Regions from separate parts of the Homo sapiens genome. Here all the other regions are linked to region 5. The links are contacts of gene promoters, found by promoter capture Hi-C in blood cells and fetal thymus (Javierre and others, 2016). All regions are on one chromosome and are shown on one strand. Each heading gives the region's core, a stretch centred on a gene start or on the middle of the fragment in contact. The rest is flanking DNA. Distances are from core to core; before and after follow the strand shown. Region 1 has its middle 24 kb from the start of PTPN12. Region 2 has its middle 30 kb from the start of GSAP. Region 3 has its middle 44 kb from the start of PTPN12. Region 4 has its middle 58 kb from the start of GSAP. Region 5 holds the start of TMEM60 (transmembrane protein 60).

Region 1 (2,700 bases), core at 69-2,568, 290 kb before region 5:
ATGAAGTTAAGATTATTCAGTGCCTGAGTATCCAATTTGAAGACTACCTATGTCTTTTAGACATTATATTTCCCATTAATACCTCCAGTGAATGTCAGCTGGGAAAATGAGAGGAAACTCAAGTTAGCTGATGGAAGCTTCCTATTAATAGCTCTGTAGAAAAGTATGGTAGGGAGTTTGAAATTATTATTGAAGATGAAAATGAGGAAATACCCATAGATCGATTAGCTGTACTTGAGACGTGTTTATTTAAACATGTACATTCTAACGATAGTATTTTTATTCAGAGGGACCTTTGATAAAAGAGAACCTAGATGAGACAACAAAGTAATTTTTATATCCAGTGACCATACACTCCTGATTTTTCAGAACAGTTCCCATTTTAAATATTATGTCTGTTATTAATGCCCAACATGTCCTACCATGTATCCTGATTTATGACATAAATATGTCACAATATTTATAGGAACATTTGAGACACTTTTGAAAGGTCTCCTGGTGAACTTCATCTAGGTACTTCCAATAGACATTAAGTGGATTTTAGCAATTGCTCCACAATCCTTCCTAAGAAATTTTACAACTTCATATAAACATATAGAATAAAACCTCTTGTGCTATCCATTTGGAGTTAATGGAACCACCGTTCATTCAGTGGGAAACTGAGAATCATGAGTCCTCCCTCTCAGCCTCTTCACCCAGTAAGTCGCTTTTTATAGCTTGAATGTTTGTATTCCCCTCAAAATTCATATGCTGAAACTCCAACCCCCATTGTGATGGTATGAGGAGGTGGGGCCTTTGGCAAGTAATTAGGTTTAGATGAAGTCATGAGGGTGGAGGCCCCATGATAGGATTAGTGCCCTTATAAGAAGAGGAAGGGAAACCAGAGCTCCTTCTCTCTTTAAGGATACAGTAAGAAGGTGGCCATCTACAAGCCAGGAAGAAAGCCCTCACCAAGAATTGAATCTGCTTGTGCCTTGATCTTGGACTTTCCAGCTTCCAGAATAATGAAAAATAAATGTCTGAGTTTAAGCCACCCAGGCTATGGCATTTGGTTAAGGCAGCCCGAGCTAAGACATTTCTATATCTTGTACCATCCCTTCCCAATTGGCCTCACCATTTATCCTCCACAGTAAGCCAGAATGGTCTCTGAAAGAGCAAATACGTTCATGTTAACTCCACCTTAAGATAATCTTCCATGACTCCCCATTGCTGCAGCAGGGGGAGTAAGCTCAAATGTCTGCAGGGATAGCTAGGTAACCTAAATATGGAGGGGTGAGCCTGAGGAGACAGAAGACTAGAGAATGTACGTCTTTTTAAAGACATTCAAATTCAAGAAAAAAAAACCTACATCAAACAAAGAATATTTGTGGGCAAGATTCCTCCTGTGGGGTGAGAGTTTTAATTATTTTAACTTGTTAGCATAGTAGAACAAGTATCTTCATTATCTGGCTCCTATAAACAAAGATAATCTTCCGTGACTCCCCATTGCTGCAGCAGGGGGAGTAAGCTCAAATGTCTGCAGGGATAGCTAGGTAACCTAAATATGGAGGGGTGAGCCTGAGGAGACAGAAGACTAGAGAATGTACGTCTTTTTAAAGACATTCAAATTCAAGAAAAAAAAACCTACATCAAACAAAGAATATTTGTGGGCAAGATTCCTCCTGTGGGGTGAGAGTTTTAATTATTTTAACTTGTTAGCATAGTAGAACAAGTATCTTCATTATCTGGCTCCTATAAACATACATCATCCTCTCCAATTATTCTCAGTTGTGTGCTCCTCTCTGAAATTGCCAAGCATTTTTGCCCATGCCTCTTCCTCTGTCCAGAATGTCCTACTGGTGAATTTCTACTCATTCTTGAAGGCTTATTACCTCTGAGAAGTTTTCCTTGATATACCTAAGCTGAAATTAGTACTTTTCTTCTGCATTCCAGAACACATATTCATATGCTGTTTAGATATACAACTTATCTCACTGCTGTAATTAGCTTTTATGTCTGTTTCATCTAAACACCACACACATAGCTCATGGTGAGTGTTGAATTCATCTTGATGTCCCCAGCATTTTACGTGGTACCTACGCACAGGCACTTGGAAAACATGCTGGATAGACAGATGGCCTGCTTAACTAAATGAAATGATTGATCCAAACAGTATTTTAGAAGAAGTGCAGTTTTCAACATTTCAAGTGTACAGAGTAGGTCCACTCGCCTACAAAGTGTTGCCAAGTGGAAGCCACTGTCAGAAATGTATTAATGACAGACAAGTCTTAGGTATGATTGGCATCCTCATTTATGTGAAGAAATGAAGCCAAAGGAAAGCACCCTTAGACCAACCTTCTTCCCTCCCCAACCACATGGAAAGAACTTGCATGCTAATGGTCAAAAGTTGGAGCTGGGAGTCAGAGATTCCTGGTAGAATTTCAGCATTACCATCTAGAAACAGTGAAACTTCAGGCAACTTACTTAATCTCTCTAAATCTGATCATCTTGTTTGTAAAATAAGCTTGATAATAGTACTTAATGAGAAAAAATATGTAAAGCATTTGGTATAGTATCTGGCACACAGTAAGCACTCATCACATATTGATAATTCTGGTAGGATGGTATTTTGAGATATTCACATTTTTTCTCCCTTCATTTTCCCCTTTCTTTCTACATCTCACAAAATTCAAAGAGCTAGCCTTTTGTTCACTGTCTCAG
Region 2 (2,700 bases), core at 52-2,551, 350 kb before region 5:
ACTGAAGGCTACCCCTTACGCTGAGCACAACTTTACAGCAGTATTTCTCTCTCCTCATACAAAAAGTCCGATAACCAAAAATACATTGAAAGAGAAGAAACTAAAAATCGCCTTTTTATCTTAAACTCACAAAAACGCTATTTCTGTCTTAAACTCACAAAACTATCTAAGGTTTCTATCTTAAACTCACAAAAACAAAAGCCTCAAAAATTATGTGGAGGCTGAAAACTAGGAATCCTGACCTGGAAACTGAGGTCTAACGTTGCCAATATTTGGATGGAGGTGAGCTTGCACAAGATCTAAAAATTGTTACATTTAGCAGGTGCAGGCCTGAACCAACAATGACAGTTTTTTCTATGGAGAAATATAATCTGACTGTCAAATAACCAGTTTGCAAATTTTGGAATACAACTCATTTGTGAACACTCTAATTCGATAAATTGTAATGTTAAAATTACAGGATAGATTATCATTTATATTTCAAACCAGTGTCCATTTTGCTGTATGATATTTGGTAATCTAATCATTAAATGTTTGTTGAGCATTTACTATGTGTCAAGCACTATGCTAGGCACTAGGTACAGGGAAGTAAACAAAATGGACATGATCTCTAATGTTATAGGATTTATTATCTAATCTAGATAAAAATAAGCACCAAATTAATACATAATTAGAAATTATGACAACTGATAATGAAGGGAAAGGGTCAACAAGAGAGACTCCTAAAATCATAGCAGGCTTTTCTGAGGAGACATTTAGCTGAGAAATTAAGAGTAAGTGAGAATTAACCTCAGGAAGGGTAAGGGAAAAGACGTTCCTGACAAAGGAACGTTTCCCAAAGCCTTGGACTGGGAAAGCATGTCGTTCCTTCAAGAGTTGAAAGGCCCGGCACGGTGGCTCATGCCTGTAATCCCAGCACTTTAGGAGGCCAAGGCGGGCGGATCACCTGAGGTCGGGAGTCCAAGACCAGCCTGACCAACATGGAGAAACCCTGTCTCTACCAAAAATACAAAAATTAGCTGGGCGTGGTAGCGCATGCCTGTGATCCCAGCTACTCGGGAGGCTGAGGCACGAGAATCTCTTGAACCCAGGAGGTGGAGGTGCACTGAGCGGAGATCGCGCCATTGCACTCCAGCCTGGGCAACAAGAGCGAAACTTCATCTCAAAAAAAAAAAAAAAAAAAAAAAAGAGTTGAAAGAAAGCCAATCTGAGCAAAGGGGAGAAGCCCAAGATGATGTTGGGGGAAAAGGCAGGAGCAGACTCTACAGAGCTTTGGAGAACGTGTTAAGGAAACTGTAGGTTCTAATAAATGCGATGGGGATCCCAAAAAGAGGGAGTGATGCCATTTACACTCTTAAAACCATCTTTCAAAAGGCCGGACGTGGAGAATGGATTAAATGGAAGCAAGAGTCATGTCTCTTTCTCTGTAAGCTCCCCATTCGGAAAAATGACAACTTCCAATTTACAACCATGTTAATGTAGCATACTTAAAGTTATTTCTTTTAAATAATTATAAAAACTTAACTTCCCGGCCAGGCGCAGTGGCTCACGCCTGTAATACCAACACTTTGGGAGGCCGAGGCTGGCGGATCATGAGGTCAGGAGATCGAGACCATCCTGGCGAATATGCGAAACCCCATCTCTACTAAAAATACAAAAAATTAGCTGGGCGTGGTGATGGGTGCCTGTAGTCCCAGCTACTTGGGAGGCTGAGGCAGGAGAATGGCATGAACCCGGGAGGCAGAGCTTGCAGTGAGCTGAGATAACACCACTGCACTCCAGCCTGGGTGACACAGTGAGACTCCATCTCAGAAAAAAAAAAAAAAGTTTAACATCCCACACATTTTTTGCTTACTAGGCAACTCTCTCCCAAGAAAATATACTACCACTAAATGAGTGAAAACTGCAATCTTTTCTATTTGGGCAATATAAATTCCAATATTCATTGAGAATGAAGATAAATTACCATTCAAGACAGAGGAAGGGGTAAAAATAAATGTCTTTTTATGTGACATTGCATTCAGAATATTATCTCTATTTTATAATCAGAGGAAACTCTGCATTTCATTGAAGTTGCTGGGACAGAAACAGCCAGAAATAGATATTCTGCATTCTTGACTTTATTCTGTTTTTGTTGCCTAGTACCATTTCTTCCTGTGGAGCATATAAGAGCAGCAGCCAGTCCTTCTCATCGTTCTCATCAAATTTGAAGGTAGGCTCCTGGCAAAAGTGAGTATGTGTGTAACTGGGTAATACAATACTTTTTTTTCCTTTTTGTGGAGAACGGGATAACCCTATATTGCCCAGGCAGGTCTCGAACTCCTGGGCTTAAGCTCTCCTCCCACTTCTGCCTCCCTAAAAGCTGGAATTACAGGCATGAGCCACCGCCTGGCCTCCAATACTTTGAAAATAATACGGTCTTCTCTTACTGCTCTGAGAACAAGTTCCTTGACATGTTATTTCATGCTATTCGTTTCAGGGGAGAGGGCTGAAAATAAGCATATCTTAAGAAATACAAAGACAAAAGAAATACTCAGCTTCTTGCATTCAAAATAGGATCATGTAACAATCTAGGTTATCTTCCAAATACCTTATTTCCTCCCCTCTCCCTGACCAAACCCACAAGGCTCATTCTCACTGCCTTTTTGTTTGTTGGCTTGTTTTACATGTGTTGATATAAGGGTTCATGCTTTATGGAAG
Region 3 (2,700 bases), core at 117-2,616, 310 kb before region 5:
CACAAAATTTACCACAAAAACAAGGGACAGGAGTTGAGAAAATTGTTAGGTTTATGCTTTGGGGTTAAATATAGGTCTTGCATTTCAACATTTTATTTTTCATCTTTTATTACCCATTATGATCAAAACTACCTGGCATGTACAAAACTATGGACTATGGAGTTAGATCCACATGCACTACCTGGCATGTATAAAACTATGGACTATAGAGTTAGCTGTCTGGGTTCCCAAAGCCAATGTTCAAAATAAATACATATGAACTTGACCAGAAGCACCTGCTTTTATCAGAAATACAAATGGCTGGTTTAAATAGCCAGATACATTTTATGAGAGTCTGAAACTTTTTCTGAATTTTTTTGGGGGGATGGAGTCTCGCTCTGTCACCAGGCTGGAGTGCAGTGGCGCGATCTCAGCTCACTGCAACCTCCGACCCCCTGGTTTAAGTAATTCTCCTGCCTCAGCCTCCCAAGTAGCTGGGATTACAGGCACACACCACCAGACCCAGCTAATTTTTGTATTTTTAGTAGAGATGGGGTTACACCATGTTGGCCAGGATGGTCTTGATCTCCTGACCTTGTGATCAGCCTTCCTCGGCCTCTCGAAGTGCTGGGAATACAGGCGTGAGCCACCGTGCCCGGCCTTTTTCTGGATATTTTAAATCCCTTGCCTATCATTATTTTAATTGTTTGTATTATTAACAATATAAAATGTTCTTCCCAAACTAGACTCATATAGTTTTCTTTTTTTAATTTAGACAACAAATATTTACTGAACAACTATAATATGAAAACAATGACAATAAAGATGAACATGGTATTTCCCTTTGAAGATCTCATTATGAACAAGCATTCAAAAAAAAAAAGGAAAGATCATTTTGTGACCAATTATTGTGACCAATTATTTTGGAGTTAGGATGTGTGTTTAAGGGAATAACCTGTGTGACTAATTTTGAGATGAGCAGTTAGGGAAAATGCGACTATAATTCATCCCTATAACTTTACAAACTGCGTTTATTCCTGTTGCATCTTACAATGAATGCTGTGCAGTTCCTTCTATCTGACAAGCATGGATGGATACTAGTCAAACATGCATTCACTCCAAATACAGCTTGCTAGTTACAGAAATAATTTTAAATAATAATTTAGAAAACATACAAGTGAGTACTACACTTCACAAAAAATCTTTCTCAATAGATATCTGAATAAATAGTAAAAAAAAAAAAAAACCTGCCCCAAAGTAATTTATGTTTTCAAAACAAAATAATAATGTTTTAAAGTGCTAAAACAAAGAGACAAATTAAAGAAGAGACTTCATGGAACGCTCAAGCTGTCTATTAGAATCTCTGCAGGAAGAGTCATTCTACTGAAATGGTAACCTAAGCTATCCCACAAAATTCTCATTTTCACTACCATGTTTTAATTTTCTCCATAAAATTTACCACAGTTGTCATAATACATATGGCAGCTGATATGGTTTGACTGTGCCCCCACCCAAATCTCATCTTGTATTGTAACTCCCACAATTCCAATGTGTTGCAGGAGGAACCCGGTGGGAAGTAATTGAATCATGGGGGCAGGTCTTTCCCATGCTGTTCTCGTGATAGTGAATAAGTCTCACAAGATCTGATGGCTTTAAAAATGGGACTTTGCCTGCACAAGTTTTCTCTTTGCCTGCTGCCATCCACTTAAGATGTGACTTGCTCCTCCTTGCCTTCCACCATGATTGTGAGGCATCCCCAGCCATCTGGAACTCTAAGTCCAATAAGCCTCTTTCTTTTGTAAATTGCCCAGTCTCGGGTATATCTTTATCAGCAGCATGAAAATGGACTAATAAGGTAAGTTGGTACCAGTAGACTGGGGTGCTGCTGAAAAGATACCTGAAAATGTGGAAGCAACTTTGGAACTGGGTAATAGGCAGAGGTTGGAAAAGTTTGGAGGGCTCAGAAGAAGACAGGAAAATGTGGGAAAGTTTTGAACTCCCTAGAGACTTGTTGAATGGCTTTGACCAAAATGCTGATAATGACATGGACAATAAAATCCAGACTGAGGTGGTCTCAGATGGAGGTGAAGAATTTGTTGGGTACTGGAGCAAAGGTGACTTTTGTTATGTTTTGGCAAAGAGACTGGCAGCATTTTGCCCCTGCCCTAGAGATTTGTGGAACTTTGAACTCAAGAGAGATGATTTAGGGTATGTGGCAGAAGAAATTTCAAAGCAGCAAAGCATTCAAGAGGTGACTTGAGTGCTGTTAAAGGCATTTAGTTTTATAAGGGAAGCAGAGCATAAACGTTGAGAAAATTTGCAGCCTGACAATATGAAAGAAAAGAAAATCCTATTTTCTGAGGAGAAATTCAAGCCAGCTGCAGAAATTTGCATAAGTAACAAGGAGCTGAATGTTATTCCCCAAGACAATGGGGAAAATGTCTCCGGGGCATGTCAGACGTCTTCGTGGCAGCCCCTCCCATCACAGGCCTGGAGATCTAGGAGGAAAAAGTGGTTTCATAGGCTGGGCCCAGGGTCCCCATGCTGTGTGCAGCCTAGGGACTTTGTGCCCTGTGTCCCAGCTGCTCCAGCCGTGGCAGAAAGGGAGCAATGTAGAGCTCAGGTCATGGCTTCAGAGGGTGCAAGCCCCAAGCCTTGGCAGCTTCCATGTGGTGTTGACCCTACGAGTGCAGAGAAGCCAAGAACTGGGGTTTGGGAACC
Region 4 (2,700 bases), core at 60-2,559, 320 kb before region 5:
CTTCACTTGGATATCAAATCCAACGTGTCTCAAATGGAACTCGTTATCTTACTCCACAGATTGGTTTCACTTCTTAATTTCCCTGTGTGAGCTAGTGCTAAAGTCATAATCCCCGTCAGGCGAGTTTACAACCTAGCGGCTATCTTTAACCTCTCTCTTTTCCCATTCTCACAGTACAGAGAAGAGGGAAGGAATTAGGACCTGCTGTCTGTTCTACCCACTAACATGGGCTAGACACTGACATCAGAGAGTTGTCAAGGTGTAGACCAAGGTCCTTGTGGGTCAGAATGCCTTGTGGCTCTTGTTAAAAATGCAGACTTCCCACCACACTTCAAACCTACTCAATCAGCATTGGGTTGGGGAACTGACATTTTAAATTAGATTCCCAGGAAGCTTTTAAGGCCAACTAAAGGGAAGCAGTACTCTACAGGAAATGACCCAGTTATAGAGAGACACATGTGGAGGAGCAGCAAGGTCAGTAAGGCACCCTGTCCAAAGGGCACAACAAAGATTCGAGGGGAAGCCCTCATGTCCCAAGCAGGTGGATGAAACATAGAAGCAGAAAATTGGTAGGTAAGGGGTCAGCCCTTCTTCTTTTTTTTTTTTTCTGTCGCCCAGGCTGGAGTGCAGTGGCATGATCTCGGCTCACTGCAACCTTCGCCTCCCAGGTTCAAGTGATTCTTCTGCCTCAACCTCCCAAGTAGCTGGGACTACAGGCACGTGTCACCACACCCGGCTAATTTTTTATTTTTTGTAGAGACAAGGGTTCATCATGTTGGCCAGGCCGGTCTCAAACTCCTGACCTTAGGTGATCCCACCCGCCTCAGCCTCCCTAAGTGCTGGGATTACAGGTGTGAGCCACCACGACTAGCTGGGGTCAGTACTTCTAAGCTCACATTTACATCTGTTTGTGAATAGCCTTCACCAGGGTAGGGCAGGAGAGACTCTAGTTCCCCAAAAGTTGGACCAATCAGAACAAGTCATGCCAGAGCCTAGTTCTGAGCATTAAAGCACACAGGGGAGGAATAGTAGCAACTCAGGTAACGATGCGGCATTCCAGGGTTATCACTGGCTGGTTGGATCCCAGCTCTCTTAGACAAGAAAGAGACTTAGGGAACAATACAGGAAGCAGGGCGCTAGAAGGAATCATTGAGGGTTTCATCTGTATCAGCCAGGATTTGGTTGCCAATAAAAGAAACCACTTTAGCTACTTTAAACTTATAGAGATTTAATATAATGAACTAGGAGCTTTCAAAATTACTGGAAAGGCTGGGGAAACAGGCTCCAGGCTGAGCTTCCAAGAATAATTGCCAGAAGTGCCTACCAAGGTAGCTATTTCTTGTGCCATCCTCAGAAAACCGAGGACTGATCAGAAAGCACTTCAGCCTGGCGACAAGAGCAAGACTCCATTTCAAAAAAAAAAAAAAAAAAAAAAGAATGCCTAACCTCCTGGGAATGCAGCCCTGTAGGTCTCAGCCTTATTTTACCCAGCCTCTCTTCAAGATGGAGTCACTCTGGTTCAAACAACTCTGACAATGTCACCCTTGTACCACTTCTCTTGTCCAAATATCATACTCATACGTTTGTTTGGCAGAGGCTGGGTCACATATGGAATCTGACAGAGTCTGAGAAATGAAGGCTGCAACTCTCTGTCCTGTAGCACGCTACAAAGGAAAGAGGGGTAGAGTTGTATAGGCCATATATGATATCTCTCTAGGCATCTAGTCAGCTATAAGTTTCTCCACTAGAATGAAAGTTATCAGAAGCCAGGGACCTATTGTTTACCATTTTAGGGGCCCCAGTAGTTCACAGAATGTCTGATGAATAGTTGGAGTGTTGTGGGGGTGAAGAAGGAAAGAAGGAAGCAAGGAAGGAAAGAAGTTCAAGATTAGGTCAGGGCAGAGTCTACAGGCAGAAAACAGGAAACTCAGTTTTGATGGTATTTAAAACCTAAAATGAAATGAAGCAGGGATGGACACTAATAATTCTTCTTTCCTAGTAGTGTTTGCTTTTAGTCTGTTTCTCTTCATTTCCATGCTGATGAACTTAATACAGTTGAAATTCCTTAAGTCTGGAAAAAATCAATTGTCTCCTAACTGGTACCTTGCCCAATTTATCCCCATTCTTCCCCATTCTAGTCCATTCTACACACCAATCTCTGGACTGGGTTTCCTAAAACATGATCTTCCAACTTTTTACTTGCAAACACTTCTAAAAGAATTTTGTAAAGCTTGTGTCCTCTTGCACATTTTTAAGCTGACATCTAAAATTCTTCATCCCATGTTAAAATAGTTGCAAAGGATGTAACTTCCAATGTTCTGTAAATATTGTCATTTTAAAATAAAAATATTATAGCACTTTAAAAATATATCTAATATAATCTAAATACCACATCATCCCTTTTTAAAAAATACATGAACAAGCTGTTCTTTAATAATCAGAAATTTTGTATTTTTCCTTTTCCTCCTTGAACTCATATTTCTATTCTGCTTCCACCAAAAAATTGTATCCTAGTATGATATTTTTATTCCTAAAAGTCTTTTTATCAATTATCTTAATTATCACAATAAAAGTATATATGTTGAAATTATTTCCTGTGACCATGAAGCTATGTTTAAGAATTATCCTGGATTGAGATATCATCTCAATTATTATTATAATATTATTGACAAAAACAACATGAATATATTACAACTGTTG
Region 5 (2,700 bases), core at 160-2,659:
CTTCTAAGGAGGCATTTTTCTGTGTTGGTTTCCTTTCCCGGCCAGAGGCTGCCATAGAGTGGGATGTGGGACTGAATTTGGAAGCAGGGTTGGAGGGGTGTGTGTTGATTAATAACCATGGATGGATTTCATCCCGTAAATTGCACAATCCCCACCTCCAATCTATCAGGCCGTTTTTGTGAACCTCTGAAAAACGGTTTATGATTATACACTTGCTTAAACCTAACTGTTCCATCTGCTATCGGATAAGACAAGCTTCATTTTTTTCTTACATTTGGCTGTACTTACCACAGGTGCTTTAGGGCTGGAGGTGAAAGGATGCAAGTAACAATCTTATTGTGCCTACAAGATTTATAATGTGGGATGCAACAAAATTCTGTTATGTTCTTGCACGGAAATACCCTCAATGGGGAAGCACTGCTGATACTTAAATGACGATTGAAGGATTGTACGCCTGTATGCTGAGCTACAACGATGACATACGATCCCAGTTTTACATTTACGTCTTCATCAATTTGAGCAGTCGTTATGTTTCCTACTATTCTCTCCACAAGAAAGGGGGAGGTGCGTACTCCAAAAATGTGCTCAACTAAAATGTTTCCCATTTAAGGTGGTTATTTCTGGCACTAGGAAGACAGTTAAATATTTGTTAATGATTCCTTACTCATTTTTAAAACCTTCGGAGTTACCCCTGTATGGACATATATAGAGCCCCACCCACATAGCCCACGGCTGGGTATCAGCCCCCATTTCCCTTCTCTCGCCACTGCCAGTAGTCTACCAAGTGAACCTGCCTCATCCCAAAGATAATTTTGCTTCATGAGCCCACATATTTATTCTTCTTCATAATGAGTCGCTTTTGAAAAGCCCGTGCAGCAACAGCCTTGGCCAAAGGAACAGCGTTCTGCTTACAACTTAGCTCATCTGGGGGCCTATTTGCCCCTGGAACTTCAGGACGCTCCTAAACTATACTTGCCCTTCTGCAAACACCGACAGTCGGCTCGCGGCGCCCCACCGGGACGCTCCCCTTTCATGGGCTGTAAGCCCAGCACATGCTGGAGTTTAACACGGTTCCTGCTGGATGCGCACAGAAGCCCTGGAGCCAAGCAGGCGTGTGCGCGTTTGGGGCTGGCTGTGTGATGGGTTGAGGGTCGGCCGCACAGCCCACGGAAGCATCAGGAGACCAGCGCCGGCGTACGGTGCGGGCTAGGGCAGAGCCCCAGACTCACCTGGCAGCGCTGCCGGCCGGAAAGCGGAGAGGGACGCGAAGATCAGCAAATTCGCCAGTTTGGATCCTTGTCCTTTTCCGCCCTTTTCCCCCCATTAAATCCAGAACCCGTCACATGATAATTAAGAAAAAACTTCAGTTCCGCCTCCTCAAACGACTGCGGTAGAGGATCTCTCAGTTCTACCTCAGTGCCGCGCCCACATCCGGGGCTGGTTCTCACCGCCCCTGAGCCTACCCTATAGGTAGAGAGGACGCCAATCTGGATTCAGAGGTCCCTTTTCCGCGGTAATTGGACCATTTGTCCGCCAGTGCAAACCAACCGACCTTTCCTTACTTTCGGGTTCGACAGAAAGGCGGCAATAAAAAGACCCATTGGTCCCGCCTCTCTACTGTCACGGGTTAGTAGGGAAGTCAGTCCAAGATCAGCCTGGAGTTTCCGTGCTCCCATTGGGCCCACAGATGTTAATCAGAGCAGCCGGCGCTCAGCTCCGCCCTCTCGGGACGCCCCGCCCCTCCTCCCATCCTCCCTGCCCGCGCGCAGTGACTGCAGGCTCCGGCGCAAAATCCTGCGGGAGAGGGGGTGGGGCAACCCTCTGGAGGCAGCGCGCCCGCGGGCAGCCTCGTTGTGGCTCCTTGGGCTCTGTTGGCGGCGGCGCTAGCTTCGGAGTCTCCCGCGCGCACCTCAGCCGCCTCCTAGCGGCGCGGCGCTCGCTCCTACGGTAAGAGCGGCATCACCTCCGCGCTCGGGTGGGCAGTGTGGAGGTCGTCGAGTTCTGACAGAATTTCGAGGATGGATCGGGACGAGGGAGGAGAGCGGTCGTCGGGATGGAGGTGGGGGCTCCGGGGCCAACGCGTCGCCCTCCGTCGCCGGCGACTTTCCCGGCAGTCTCCCGTACCTGAGGGCCGGGGTCAGCCGCGACCCCTTCTCATCAGTCGGCCGGTGGCGGAGGCTCAGCCGCCTTCCTCCCGAGCTCGCGCGGTCCTCAAGTCTTGATGGTGACGGGCCGAAGCCCAGCGCGCCACCCGCCCCTCGGGCCCCGCTTCCAGGCCCCTGTCCTTTGCTTCCTTCCCTTGGCGCTGTGCTGAGGGGTCGTCGGGTCCTGGAAGGGCGTTCAGGGGTCTCGGGTGGCTAGCCCGGCTGGCGGGGAGATGTCAGCTAGCGGCCGGAGGAGCGGGCTCGGGAGGGGGCGGCGGCTCGCGCGCTGGAGGAGGTGGAAGGAGGGTCGCTGCCCTGCCCCCTCTGAGCAGGCGGCAGTCGAGTTTTCTGATCCCAACACGGCGGAGTGGGTGCTTAAGGCATGGGCCTTAAGGGATAGTTCCCGTCTGGAAACAATACCGTGCTCCATCAGCATGCTTCAGCTTTTCTTATTTTTATCTGCCCAGTGTTGACAGCCAGCATTCTGGTATTGTCCTTCGAGTCATGGCTTTCTAACTCAGCACCTCCTTGTGTAACTTCAGGGATCATTCTGTCA

Evidence for each region. The method cuts DNA at HindIII sites, captures the fragments that hold promoters and counts their contacts. A CHiCAGO score of 5 or more calls a contact.
Region 1: a contact is called between a fragment that was not itself captured here and the fragment with the promoter of TMEM60 in region 5, in 5 of 17 cell types (neutrophils, erythroblasts, total CD4 T cells and 2 more). The highest score is 7.1, in neutrophils.
Region 2: a contact is called between a fragment that was not itself captured here and the fragment with the promoter of TMEM60 in region 5, in 1 of 17 cell types (neutrophils). The highest score is 5.7, in neutrophils.
Region 3: a contact is called between a fragment that was not itself captured here and the fragment with the promoter of TMEM60 in region 5, in 2 of 17 cell types (monocytes and neutrophils). The highest score is 7.4, in monocytes.
Region 4: a contact is called between a fragment that was not itself captured here and the fragment with the promoter of TMEM60 in region 5, in 1 of 17 cell types (neutrophils). The highest score is 5.1, in neutrophils.

The regions. Positions count from the first base shown.
Region 1 is chr7:77,511,987-77,514,686 of GRCh38, forward strand. No RefSeq gene overlaps it. Among named protein-coding and RNA genes, the nearest start is that of PTPN12, 24 kb to the right of the region's middle. The HindIII fragment of the contact is 2,366 bases long and covers 136-2,501 here.
Region 2 is chr7:77,444,553-77,447,252 of GRCh38, forward strand. No RefSeq gene overlaps it. Among named protein-coding and RNA genes, the nearest start is that of GSAP, 30 kb to the left of the region's middle. The HindIII fragment of the contact is 4,122 bases long and covers 1-2,700 here.
Region 3 is chr7:77,491,508-77,494,207 of GRCh38, forward strand. No RefSeq gene overlaps it. Among named protein-coding and RNA genes, the nearest start is that of PTPN12, 44 kb to the right of the region's middle. The HindIII fragment of the contact is 6,208 bases long and covers 1-2,700 here.
Region 4 is chr7:77,473,394-77,476,093 of GRCh38, forward strand. No RefSeq gene overlaps it. Among named protein-coding and RNA genes, the nearest start is that of GSAP, 58 kb to the left of the region's middle. The HindIII fragment of the contact is 1,837 bases long and covers 392-2,228 here.
Region 5 is chr7:77,797,025-77,799,724 of GRCh38, forward strand. It overlaps TMEM60 (transmembrane protein 60), which reads right to left and starts at 1,410. Exons shown (of 2, transcript NM_032936.4): 1 at 1,230-1,410. It overlaps PHTF2 (putative homeodomain transcription factor 2), which reads left to right and starts at 1,749. Exons shown (of 19, transcript NM_001395272.1): 1 at 1,749-1,947. RefSeq lists an enhancer at 1,170-1,279 and a silencer at 1,690-1,829. The HindIII fragment of the contact is 8,213 bases long and covers 254-2,700 here.